Linked DNA regions of Homo sapiens: all the other regions are linked to region 1. The links are contacts of gene promoters, found by promoter capture Hi-C in human tissues and cell types (Jung and others, 2019). All regions are on one chromosome and are shown on one strand. The core of a region is centred on a gene start or on the middle of the fragment in contact, and the rest is flanking DNA. Distances in the headings are between cores, read along the strand shown.

The links. Contacts are between HindIII fragments. The study calls those that stand out against the background at their distance.
Region 2: the fragment with the promoter of R3HDM4 here is called in contact with the fragment with the promoter of PALM in region 1 in 6 of the 25 tissues and cell types used here (adrenal gland, dorsolateral prefrontal cortex, heart right ventricle and 3 more).
Region 3: a contact is called between a fragment that was not itself captured here and the fragment with the promoter of PALM in region 1, in 3 of the 25 tissues and cell types used here (IMR-90 fibroblasts, heart left ventricle and thymus).

What each region holds. Positions count from the first base shown.
Region 1 is chr19:706,717-710,882 of GRCh38, reverse strand. PALM (paralemmin) reads right to left here and starts at 1,948. Exons shown (of 9, transcript NM_002579.3): 1 at 1,732-1,948. The coding sequence starts at 1,736. RefSeq lists a silencer at 2,702-2,938 and an enhancer at 2,391-2,951. The HindIII fragment of the contact is 30,523 bases long and covers 1-4,166 here.
Region 2 is chr19:911,441-915,606 of GRCh38, reverse strand. It overlaps R3HDM4 (R3H domain containing 4), which reads left to right and starts at 2,388. Exons shown (of 8, transcript NM_138774.4): 1 at 2,388-2,520. The coding sequence starts at 2,450. RefSeq lists a silencer at 2,231-2,570. The HindIII fragment of the contact is 36,901 bases long and covers 1-4,166 here.
Region 3 is chr19:513,230-517,395 of GRCh38, reverse strand. All of the region lies in intron 1 of TPGS1 (tubulin polyglutamylase complex subunit 1), which reads right to left. Among named protein-coding and RNA genes, the nearest start is that of MADCAM1-AS1, 7.4 kb to the right of the region's middle. The HindIII fragment of the contact is 7,591 bases long and covers 1-4,166 here.

The sequences.
Region 1 (4,166 bases), core at 699-3,198:
CCATTGTCAGCCCGGGAACCGGGGAGAGAGTCGTCCTCGAATGGCGGCTCACAGCAGCCGGTTAACACTGGGTGCCTGTCCCATGTCTGCATCCCCAAAAGCAATGATGACCCAATGGGGGACCTGTGGGCCACCCTCTGACCCAGGACGGAGAAACCGTGGAGCAGAGCAGGAGGCACCGAGGCCCCCCGGCCCCAGGTGCTGTGTGATGGAGGGGGGGTGGGGGGGGGGCAGCAGCTCCTCTCTGGGCCTCAGTATCCCCCGTGGGAAAGGAAGGGGTGGCAGGAAGGAAACAATGGGCCCGACCCGGAGTGTTCGCTGACACCCCTCCTCTGGGAGGGAGATCTCCGTCGTCCTCCTAGGCAGCCCCCTCCCCACAGCCACACCCTGCCCAGGCCTGGCTGTCAGAGGCCCAGAGGCTCCTCCGGGGCCTGGCGAGCAGGGCAGATAAACAAGGCTGGGGGGTGGGGGTGTGGAGCAGGCAAGTCTGGGCCCTGGCTCCCCTGAGCCCCTGGCTGAGCTCCCGGGGCGGGGTGACGGGGAGAGGGGTCAGGCCTTTGTCTGGGTTTTCAAAAGCAGAGGACACTGGGTGTCTCGCTTTCCCAGGGAGGGAGGGAGGCAGCGGCCCCCACCCAGCCGCGGGCGTGGCGGGTCACGGGTGAATCCCCGGGGAAAGTTGGCGGCTTAGAAAACACGCCCAGTGGGAAGGGCAGGGGGCCACAGGCGGCCTCCAGATCCGGTCTTCGGTCCTCGGGCTGGGGTGGGGACCCGGGCCTCAGCAGGGCAGCTGGCTCCCCTGTCCTGAAGTGGGCAGGTGGGTGACCCCAGGAGGAGCCTCCTGACCCCTGCCCGTGCAGTGCCCACCTGTGGGAGTGAGGGGCAGAGGGGCACCCGAGCACCGGGAGGAGGGGACCGGTGTCCGAAATGACCACGCGCCCTCGCTCGGTGCCTCCACTGGCCACCCCCCCCCCACACACACAGGCGCAGCCATGCGGGGGTCCAGGGATCCCAGCCCAGGGCCAGCCCACTCCTGTAGCTACACCAGTGGAGCCCCAGCTCCGAGACACTTCCCCGAGAGGGTATCCCACCCAGGCGCCCCGCTGGAAAACGCCGGTTCCTCTCCCTTCTCACACACCCCAGAGACCCGGGAAGCCGAGGGCAGCCCCTCTCCCTCCAGCGGTAACTCGGGACCTGCGCAGTGGCGGGGGGCTCAGGACACCCCTGGAGGCCCTTGGGAAGGGCGGGGGTGGGGGGCACCGGCCCGCGCGCGCGTCCAGGGCGCCAGGAGCCGTGCGCTCAGACTGGGGCGGGGGAAGGGTGCGTGAGCGCGAGGCCGGACCGGTGCAATCTGGGGAGGGGTCGCTCCATCTCCCCGGGGCCACCCACAGGTGGCCGAGAGCCGAGGCTCGCCCTGGAGACGCGGGCGGGGCGCGGGCGGAGACGCGAGCCTCCCCCTCCCCGCGTCCTGGACTGGCCCGAGCCGCCGCTGCCCGGGTCCCCACGCGCCGGTGGGTGGGCAGCCGGGGTCCGGGAGCGGGGAGGCCTCCCGGCAGGCGCGGCCCAGCCCGAGTCTCTTCCCGGCTGCGCTGCGGCCCCAGCAGCCCCGCGCCGCCTCCTGCTCCTCGCGGGGGCAGCGACGCCCCCAATGGGGCGCGAGAGAGGGGGCCTCCCCCCTCCCCGGCTCCCGGAGCTCCGGGCCCCCAGCCCCGCGGCCCGAGCGCGCCTACTCACTCCATCTCCCCGCCGAGGTCCGGGTGGGTCCGCGGTGCCGGGCGGGGGCGGGCGCGGGTGGCGCGCGGGGGAGGGGAGGGGAGGGGGACGCGGCCTGGCGGGGGCCGGGGCGGGCTAAGGCCTGGCGGCCGGGGCTGCGCGGCGCGGGGGCGGCGGCACCGGCTCGGGCATCGCCCCGCGCAAAGCTGCTGTTTATTGTCCGGGCGGCGGCGGGCGCGGGGGGTGGGCTGGGCGCGCGCGTCTCCGGCGCGCTCCCCTCTCCCTCCCGCCCGCCCCGCTCCCCGCCCCGCTCCCCTCCCACCTCCCCGCGCTGCGAGCGGGCGCTGCGCCTCCTGCCGGCTGCGCCGCCGCCGCCCCCCGCCCCGCGCGCCCCGCCCCGGGGCACCCCTGAGAAGGGCCTAGGTCTGGGCGCGGTGCTGGGACCCGGCTGTCACCAAGTCCCGCCCCTCCCCAGCTCCTGGGCCAGAGCCGGGACCCTCGCGAAGTCAGACAAGCAAAGGCCTTTCTCGAGAGCCCAGACGCCGAGAGGGACACACATTTCAGGGCGAGCGAGGGGATAGGGGGGTCCTGGGGAGGCCGCTGCGAGGAGCTGACAGCTCCCTGCACCCCCGGCCCCGCTCGCAGGGTCCCCAGGCCTCCTTTGCCGGAGTATCTGGTGGAGGGCGCTGTGCCTGCAAAGGCCGGGGGTTGGGGTGGAGACAACCGCAGGTGCTGATCTGTCTGTGCCCTGGCTGGGAGCTGAGCCTGGTCCCCGGGGCTGGAATTTAATCGGCCCCAGGGCCCCCATGGCACACTCACTAAAGGCCCAGCGACCAGACGACCAGAGTGAGTGAGAGGGACGGTGGAGAATCAGGGAGAGCTCAGGCTTTGTCCTCAGAGCACTGGGGAGCCACAGCAGGAGACAGGCAGGACCTGTCTTCCCCAACATGTAGGCCTTGGGCCCAGCTTCCTGGTTTCCCGTGAGAACACTGCAGACCAGCCCCAGCACACCTACTCATGGGGGTCCAGGGTGGGCAGGAAGGAAAGATTCTTCCAAACTTCTTAGTTTTCTTATAAAACGGTTCTCCTCTGCCGATGTTTGCTGAATGGCTGTAGATTTAAAGGAAAGTAGCCCCGGATGAGCTGTGGAGAAAGATACGGCAGGATGTACCCCAGGCTGAAGAAGGCCGTCAACACCTTTTCTTTATTCCTCCCTTTTTACAATGAATGTGTATTCATTTTAGCATTTAAGACAATAAGATAAATTAGCAAAGGTTAACAAAGCTAAGATCCTAAAGAATATCAGGGGTCCCGGGTCTGTCTGATTCCCAGCTCACCCATCTCCAAGCTGTGTGACCCTGGGTCTGTTTCTCAACCTCTCGGAGCCTTATTCCCCCCCACCCCCCTGCCCCCACCCTTAAGGCTGTGGGAGGGTTAACTGAGTGAGCACACACAAAGGGCTTGGCACAGGGCCCAGCACACACTAGCTCAGGGTTTGGCAAACTTTTTCTGTAAAGGGCCAGAGAGTAAATATTTTCAGCATTGCAGGCCACAGTCTCTGCGGCAATGACTCTGCTCTGCCATCGCAGAGTGAAAGTAGCCAGAGACAATATGTAAAACCATGGGCATGGCTCTGTGCCCATAAAACTTTATTTACAAAAACAGGCAGTGGGCCAGAGCTTATCCCAGGGCCGTAGTGTACTGACCCCTGCACTAGGCACCCAATAAAACTTTATTTACAAAAACAGGCAGAGGGCCAGAGCTGATCCGAGGGCCGTAGTGTACTGACCCCTGCACTAGGCACCCAATAAAACTGACCTGTGAGTCGTTTCTTCACTTCCCCTTGGCCTCTGTGTTCTTTTAGTCCAAAGTGATTTATTGAACACCTACTGTGTGCCTGGCACCGTTAGTCACCTGTGATGCAGAAGTTCCATTTTTGCGGCCAGGCGCCGTGGCTCACGCCTATAATCCCAGCACTTTGGGAGGCTGAGGCTGGTGGATCACGAGGTCAAAAGTTTGAGACCAGGCCGGGCGCGGTGGCTCACGCCTGTAATCCCAGCACTTTGGGAGGCTGAGGCTGGTGGATCATGAGGTCAAAAGTTAGAGACCAGCCTGGCCAACATGGCAAAACCACTTCTTTTTTTGGCTGGGGTGGACGGAGTTTCGCTCTTGTTGCCCAGGCTGGAGTGCAATGGCGCGATCTCGGCTCACTGCAACCTCCGTCTACCAGGTTCAAGCAATTCTCCTGCCTCAGCCTCCCTAGTAGCTGGGATTACAGGTGTGAGCCACCACGCTCGGCCAGTGAAACTCCTTCTCTACTAAAAATACAAAACTTAGCTGGGCATGGTGGTGCGCGCCTGTAATCCCAGCTACTGGGGAGGCTGAGGCAGGAGAATGGCTGGAACCCGGGAGGCAGAAGTTGCAGTGAGCAGAGATCGCGCCACTGCACTCCAGCC
Region 2 (4,166 bases), core at 1,139-3,638, 200 kb before region 1:
TTCCATTTGCATAAAAAAAGACAAAAAAGGGAGGAAAAAAAATGAATAGGCCGGGCACAGTGGCTCATGCCTGTAATCCCAGCACATTGGGAGGCCGAGGCAGGTGGATCACTTGAGGTCAGGAGTTCCAGACCAGCCTGGCCAACGTGGTGAAACCTGGTCTCTACTAAAAATACAGAAATTACCCGGGCTTGGTGGAGGGTGCCTGTAATCCCAGCTACTTGGGAGGCTGAGGCAGGAGAATCACTTGAGCCCAGGAGGTGGAGGTTGCAATGACCTGAGATTGCATCACTGTAGGCTGGGTGACAGAGCGAGACTCTCTCAAAAAAAAAAAAGAAGAAGAAGAAGAAGAAGAAGGTACAGACAGGACAGGCCCAGGCCCCTGAAGGGAAGCCCTGGAACCCAGAATGGGAGGAAGGCCCAGGAAGTTCTCTGGAGTTGCCTCCCTCTCTCACGAATAAATGTTCAGGTCCATTCTTTGAGCATCTACCCTTACCCTGTGCCTGATGGATGGGGAAACCACTCATTCCCGATGCCCAGCTCCCCTGCCAGTCACTCCTGATACATCTCTCCATTGTCCTTTTTCACCTCTTTGCACATTTATCTACAGGAATCTCACAGTGCACGCTTTTTTGAGTCCATCCACAGTTTCTCATCCTTTTCTTTTTCCTCCTTACTCTTTCTTTCTTTTTCTTTCTTTCTTGCTTTTTTTTTTTGAGACAGCATCTCGCTCTGTCGCCCAGGCTGGAGTGCAATGGCACAATCTCGGCTCACTGCAAGCTCTGCCTCCTGGGTTCACTCCATTCTCCTGCCTCAGCCTCCTGAGTAGCAGGAACTACAGGCGCCTGCCACCATGCCCGGCTAATTTTTTGTATTTTTGGTAGAGATGGGGTTTCACCGTGTTAGCCAGGATGGTCACAATCTCCTGACCTCATGATCCACCCGCCTCGGCCTCCCAGAGTGCTGGGATTACAGGCGTGAGCCACTGTGCCTGGCTATTTTTTTTTTTTTTTTTTTTTTTTTTGAGACAGAGTAGTCTTACTCTGTGGCCCAGGCTGGAGTGAAGTGGACGGCTCCCTGCAACTTTTGCCTCCCATGTTCAAGCGATTCTTGTGCCTCAGCCTCCCATGTAGCTGGGACTATGGGTGCATACCACCACGCCCGGCTAATTTTTGTAGTTTTAGTAGAGATAGGGTTTTGCCATGTTGGCCAGGCTGGTCTCAAACTCCTGACCTCAAGTGATCCACTGGCCTTGGCCTCTCAAAGTGCTGGTATTACAGGTGCGAGCCACCGTGCCCAGCCTCCCTCTTGCTTTATTTTATTTTATTTTATTTTTTTGAGATGGAGTCTCGCTCCTCGCCCAGACTGGAGTGCAGTGGCACGATCTCGGCTCACTGCAAGCTCCGCCTCCCGGGTTCACGCCATTCTCCTGCCTCAGCCTCCCGAGTAGCTGGGACTACAGGCCCCCGCCACCACGCCCGGCTAATTTTTTGTATTTTTAGTAGAGAGGGGGTTTCACTGTGTTAGCCAGGATGGTCTCGATCTCCTGTCCTCGTGATCCGCCCACCTCGGCCTCCCAAAGTGCTGGGATTACAGGTGTGAGCCACCGCGCCCGGCCCTTTCTTTTTATTTTAGAGATGGGTTTTCATCATGTTGCCCAAGCTAGTCTCAGACACCTGGACTCAAGTGATCCACTGGCCTTGGCTTCCCAAAGTGCTGGGATTACAGGCGTGAGCCACCACGTTGGCCACCAGGCCTAATTTTAGAGAAGAGTAAACTGAGGCTAAGCAGGGGAAGGGGTTGCCTAGCCGAGGCTCCAGGGCTGGGAGGGGCAGGTGGAAGGAAGGCTCGGGCAGTTTTAATTTCCGCCATCCTCTGCCTCCAAGAAGAACGTCCCCTCCCTCGTCGATGCTCAGGCCTTAGTTTCCCTGTCCGTGTCTCCTCGCCTCCCTGGGCTGGATTCCTGGCTCAGTCCGCAGCCCGGATCGGGACGCAGGGTTGTGGTTGAGTTTTCGACCCCTCGCCTAGGTGTCCCTCCTTCCCGGAGCTAGATTTCTGGGTGTAGGGATCGTGGCCGGCCCCGCCTCCCGCCTCAGTCTCCCCGTTCGTCCCCCCAGGGGCTGGATCCCGGCCCCGCCTGCCTCGGTTTCCCCGTTCGTTCCCTGATGGCTGGATCCCGGCCCCGCCTGCCTCGGTTTCCCCGTTCGTTCCCTGTTGGCTGGATCCCCGCCCCGCGCGCCTCGGTTTCCCCGTTCGTCCCCCCAGGGGCTGGATCCCCTCCCCGCGCGCCTGGGTTTCCGCGTTCGTTCCCGGCAGCCGGGAGGTGGGCGCCCCCGCCCCGCCGCGCAGCCCCAGGCCCCGCCCCTGCCCGCCTCCGGGCGCCCGTCACTTCCTGCCCGGCCCGGTGAAGGCCCTGCCGGGCGGCGGCGGCGGCGACAGCGTGCGAGCCATGGTCGCGCTGGAGAACCCCGAGTGCGGCCCGGAGGCGGCGGAGGGCACCCCGGGCGGGCGGCGGCTGCTGTGAGCGCGGGCGGGCGGGGCGCGGCGGGCGCCGGGGGCGGGCTGGGCTCCCTCCCCTGAGATCCTCTCCCCGCCTCCCCTCCCCTCCTTTCCCTTCCCTCCCCTCGTTCCCTTCGTTCCCCTCGCTCCCGTTGCTCATCTTCCGGGGCTTCAGCCTGTCCTGCCTTCCCTTCTCGCCCGCTGTGGACCCCCAGGCTGGGTGGGGGGTCTTCATTGTTACTCAGCGGGGACACCCTCCTGGCGCTCCGGGGGCTCGCTGGGGGAGGGGACCCGGATCCACGTCCCCATTTACCTGTTCCGCCCCCTACTCCCCGGTCCGCCCCCTAATCCCCGGTCCGCGCCCCACTCCCCGGTCCGCCCCCCCACTGCACTGGTCCGCGCCTCCATTCCCGGGTCCACCCCCTCACTCTCCGGGTCCGCCCCCCAACTCCTCGGTCCGTGCCCCCACTCTCCGGTCCGCGCCCCCACTTCCCGGGTCCGACTCCCCCCACTCCCGGGTCCGCGCCCCCCCACTGCCCTGATCCACGCCCCCACTCCTGGGTCCGTCCCCCCACTCCCTGCTCCACCCCCCCACTCCCCTGGTTCTTGCCCCCATTCCTGGGTCCGCCCCGCAACTCCTCGGGTCAGCCCCCCAACTCCTCGGTTCCACCCCCCAACTCCCTGGTCCGTGCCCCTACTCTCTGGTCTTCGCCCCCACTCCCGGGTCCGCGCCCCCACTCCCGGGCCCGCCCCCCAACTCCTCTGTCCGACCCCCCCACTGCCCTGGCCCACGCCCCGACTCCCGGGTCTGTCCCCCCACTCCCCAGTCCGCCCCCCAACTCCCTGGTCCACCCCCCCCACCTCCCCGGGGCCGCGCCCCCACTCCCGGGTCTGTCCCCCCACTCCCCGGTCAGTCCCCCAACTCCCTGGTCCGCCCCCCACACTCCCGGGTCCGTCCCCCCACCTCCCCAGTCCGCCCCCCAACTCCCTGGTCCACCCCCCCCCCCACCTCCCCGGGGCCGCGCCCCCACTCCCGGGTCTGCCCCCCCACTCCCCGGGCCCCGAGGTGCCAGCCATGGAGCCTCCCGCCAGAGGGTCCTGGGCCCCTGTCCGCGGGTCGGGGTTCACCCACGTGGCCATGCGCTCCAGCCTGGTCCCTGCCGCACGCCCGGCCCCACTCGCCCTCTGGGCTTGTCCGCGCCCCCTGCCTTTCCGGGCAGACCCGGCTCCTTGCTCTCCTTTGGGTAAATCCCTACAACCCTTGTGGGTTAAAACCTGGCAAGCAGGAGCCCGCGCGTCCTTCCCGGGGGACCCGGAAGCGGGGCGGTCTGTGCGGGGGTCAGCCGTGTGTCACCCCGGCCCGCACAGGGACCCGGGGACCCAGGGTGCGCCCCTGGGGTCCGTGTTGGTGGAGGGCGAGGAGGCGGCGCGTGTTCCGTTCCTGCCTCCTCCGTGTGCGGACGGCGCCACCTGGGCAGGTTATTTCATGCTTCCATGCCTCAGTTTCCCCTTCTGTAAAATGGGATAGTAAGTGTGGCCTCTTCTCCGAGTGGTGGGGGTTACCGAGCTGGCACTGCGGCGGGCCCAGCAAACAGGAGTGTCCGTTGTCTCATTACTAATTATCGTTAATGTTTTATTGGTTATTTTAGTAGTATTAATATTTTGAG
Region 3 (4,166 bases), core at 1,463-3,962, 190 kb after region 1:
CCCCTCCCAGCCTCCACCCAGCTCAGGCCTCTCCTCCCCGCAGCTCCCATCCAGCCCTGGCTTCCCAGCTCCAACTGGACCGGCCTCAGGGCCTCTGCAAGGGCCGTGACACTGCCTTCCCCCAGATCTCCCTCACCTCCTCCCTGGTCTCCTCCAGGTCTCTCCTCAAATGTCGCCTCCCCTGACCCCTAACTCCTTTCCTCCTGTTTTCTTCCTAGTGGTCATCCTGTCTCACTCGCTGTCCCACATCCCTGTGAGCTTCATGTCTCCCACCAGTGTGAGCACCTGCCCTCCAGGGCCGGAAGTTCGTCTTGGTTATAGCCCTGGTGCCCAGAACACTGCCCTGCCCACAGTAGGTGCTCAGTAAATGTCTTGAATCAACGGCAGGCATCTGTCTGGGGCATCTGGCCCCAGTGAAGAAGGAATTAGTGAAATCAGCTCTAACCTAATAGTAGTAGTCATAGAAATTTTAAAATCCTCTTAAAGTTGCTGCAAAGTGTGACCCCCACCCTTACACTCAAGTTAAAAGAGAATGTTAACAGCCTGTCTTCTCTCTGTAGTCAGTGGACCTTATCTATACTCTCCAACTCCACATTCCTCAGTTTATTACAGGCCCAGCGAGTTCCTGCTTACCTCCCTAGCACGGCTGCAGGGTCACAAAACCGATAAGTTTAGGTTGTAAGACATGTTTTTCTCAAGATGTGAGAAATGTTGGCCAGGCACGGTGGCTCACGCCTGTAATCCCAGCACTTTGGGAGGCCGAGGTGGGAGGATCACAAGGTCAAGAGATTGAGGCCATCCTGGCCAACATGGTGAAACCCCATCTCTACTAAAAATACAAAAATTAGCGGGACGTGGTGGTACACGTCTGTAGTCCCAGCTACTCGGGAGTCTGAGGCAGGAGAATCGCTTGAACCTGGGAGGTGGAGGTTGCGGTGAGCCAAGATGGCGCCACTGCACTCCAGCCTGGGCGACAGAGCGAGACTCCGTCTCAAAAAAAAAAAAAAGAAAAAGAAAAAAGAAATGCTGTAATGCTTAACTGCCTTTGTTTCTCGCCTCTGTAACTTGCTTCCCGCCTCACGTAGTTCCCGCCTTACGATGTTTAAAAATAGGAAAAGCCCTTTGTTCGAGGCTCAGACTTTCTGGATGTATGTCCAGCTGAGCCGGTGATCACCTTGATAAACTCTCCTGAACCTTTTTCGGTCTCTCCACTCTTTGTCCCACAACACCAGGACCCTCTGGTCTCCCTCCCTGCAGCAGCAGCGCCTGTTTACATGTGGCCAAATACTGTGCCCAACATTTAACACAACTGACATTTGTTTTTTTCTTTTCTTTCTTTCTTTCTTCCTTTTTTTTTTTTTTTTGAGACGGAGTCTCGCTCTGTCGCCCGGGCTGGAGTGCAGTGGCGGGATCTCGGCTCACTGCAAGCTCCGCCTCCCGGGTTCACGCCATTCTCCTGCCTCAGCCTCCCAAGTAGCTGGGACTACAGGCGTCCGCCACTATGCCCGGCTAATTTTTTGTATTTTTAGTAGAGACGGGGTTTCACCGTTTTAGCCGGGATGGTCTCGATCTCCTGACCTCGTGATCCACCCGCCTCGGCCTCCCAAAGTGCTGGGATTACAGGCGTGAGCCACCGCGCCCGGCCCTCTTTCTTTTTTTGAGACAGTGTCTCACTCTGTTGTCAGGCTGGAGTGCAGTGGCACAATCTCAGCTCACAGCAACCTCCACCTCCCGGGTTCAAGCGATTCTCCTGCCTCAGCCTCCTGAGCTGCTGGGATTACAGGCGTGTGTTACCACACCCAGCTAATTTTTGTATTTTTAGTAGAGACGGGGTTTCACCATGTCGGCCAGGATGGTCTGGATCTCGAGTGACCTCGTGGTCCGCCCACCTCGGCCTCCCAAAGTGCTGGGATTACAGGTGTGAGCCACTGCGCCCAGTCTGTGCTGAACATTTAACACAGCTGACATTGCATTTTTTCTTTTTTTTTTTTTTTTGAGACAGGGTCTCACTGTGTTGTGCAGGCTGGAGAGCAGTGGTACAATCAGGGCTCACAGCAGCCTCCACCTCCTGGGCTCAAGCGATCCTCCTGCCTCAGCCTCCCAAACTGCTGGGATTACAGGTGACAGTTGCTGCTCGGGGCCAGTGGTGGTATTTCTCTCCCCACAATCCCACAGGCAAGGCCCCACAGTCAGCCTGAGGGTCAAATACGACCTGCTGCCTGCTTTTGTAAATAAAGCTTTATCGGAACATAACCACATCAGTCCGCTGACATGTGGCCTGTGGCAGCTTCCGACCAGAACCGTAGAGCTGAATGTCAGGATGGAGGCTGCCACGCAAAGCTGAAATGTTCACTATCTGGCCCCTTACAGAAGAAGGCTGTCAGCCCTGCTGCCGGCTCTGGGGTGGGTTCGATTCCCTGCCCCAGTGAGGAGCCTGAGGCCTTACTACGTGCCACTCGTGTGCTGGTAGTGTGACACACACTCCCGTGGAGGGCACCAGGGAGTGGCCAGGGAGCACCGTGGCCAGCGTGGGGGCCGCTGCAGGACCCTGGGTGGGCTGCTTAACCCCCTGGCCTCACTCCCCCCATCAGTTCCCGGCCAGGCCTCATGCTAGTGGCCTGTTACTTCCTCTGGGACATATAGGGAAACTGAGGCTCAGGGCAGCCCCATGGTCTGGCCAAGGGTCCCAGAGAGGAAGTGGCCAACCTCAGGGCTTACGCTTTTCCCTTCTGGGAGCTCAGCTTCATGGTGAGGAGGGCAGCCTTCCCTCCGGCATGACCTGGGCACACGACTTCACCTTTCTGTGGGCCACCTGTGGTAGGTGCCGGGGAAGTGCTAAGCCAGCATGCAGTAGGTGCTCAGTAAATGCAGGGTTGGTGTGCAGCAGGTGCTCAGTAATGCAGGGCTGGTACACAGTAGGTGCTCAGTGATGCTGGGCCAGAATGCAATAGGTGCTCAGTAAATGTGGGGCTGGTGTGCAATAGGTACTCAGTAATGCTGGGGCGGTGTGCAGTGGGTGCTCAGTAAATGCTGGGCCAGTAAGCAATAGGTGCTTAGTAAACGTGGGGTCGGTGTGCAGTGGGTGCTCAGTAATACAGGGCCGGTGTAGAGTAGGTGCTCAGTGAATGCAGGGCCAGTACACGGTAGGTACTCAGTAATGCTGGGGCGGTGTGCAGTGGGAGTGAAGTAAATGCTGGGCCAGCATGCAATAGGTGCTCAGTAAATGTAGGGTCAGTGTGCAGTGGGTGCTCAGTAATACAGGGCTGGTGTACAGTAGGTGCTTAGTGAATGCAGGGCTGGTACATAGTAGGTGCTCAGCAAATGTGGGGCCAGTGTGCAGTGGGTGCTCAGTAATGCTGGGTCTGTGTACAGTGGGTGCTCAGTAAATGCTGGGCCAGCATGCAATAGGTGCTCAGTAAATGTGGGGCCGGGGCAGGTTGGTGTGCAGCAGGTGCTCAGTAATGCAGGACTAGTGCACAGTAGGTGCTCAGTAATGCTGGGGTTGTGTGCAGTGGGTGCTCACTAAATGCTGGGCCAGGATGCAATAGGTGCTCAGTAAATGTGGGGCCAGTGTGCAGTAGGTGCTCAGTAAATGTGGGGCTGGTGTGCAGTAGGTACTCAGTAATGCTGGGCTGGTGTGCAGTAGGTACTCAGTAATGCTGGGCTGGTGTGCAGTAGGTACTCAGTAATGCTGGGCTGGTGTGCAGTAGGTACTCAGTAATGCAGGGCCAGTATGCAGTAGGTGCTCAGTAATGCTGGGCTGGTGTGCAGTAGGTGTTCAGTAATGCAGGGCCGGCATGCAGTAGGTGCTCAGTAAATGCTGGGCGGGTGCACAGTAGGTGCTCAGTAATGCTGGGCCGGTGCACGGTGGGTGCCTGGTGAACACGTGCCTCCCTGGTCATCACTGCTGCTCAGTTCAGGGCTTAGGGATGGACGTGCCATCTCAGCGAGCTCGAGGGTCAAAGCTCTGCTATGGAGGAGGAAACTGAGGCCCAGAGGCAGGAGGGCAGCGACCTGCAATTCAACTCTAGGCCCATCTGGCTGTACGCTCCTTTTCCCTCCCAAGTAGTAAAGGCCCCATTTGTTGGCCCTTATAATCCGCTGGGCGCTTTTACCATCCATGAGGTCATCCCCAAAATGCGCTGGGGGCAGTCGCAGTGTCAGCG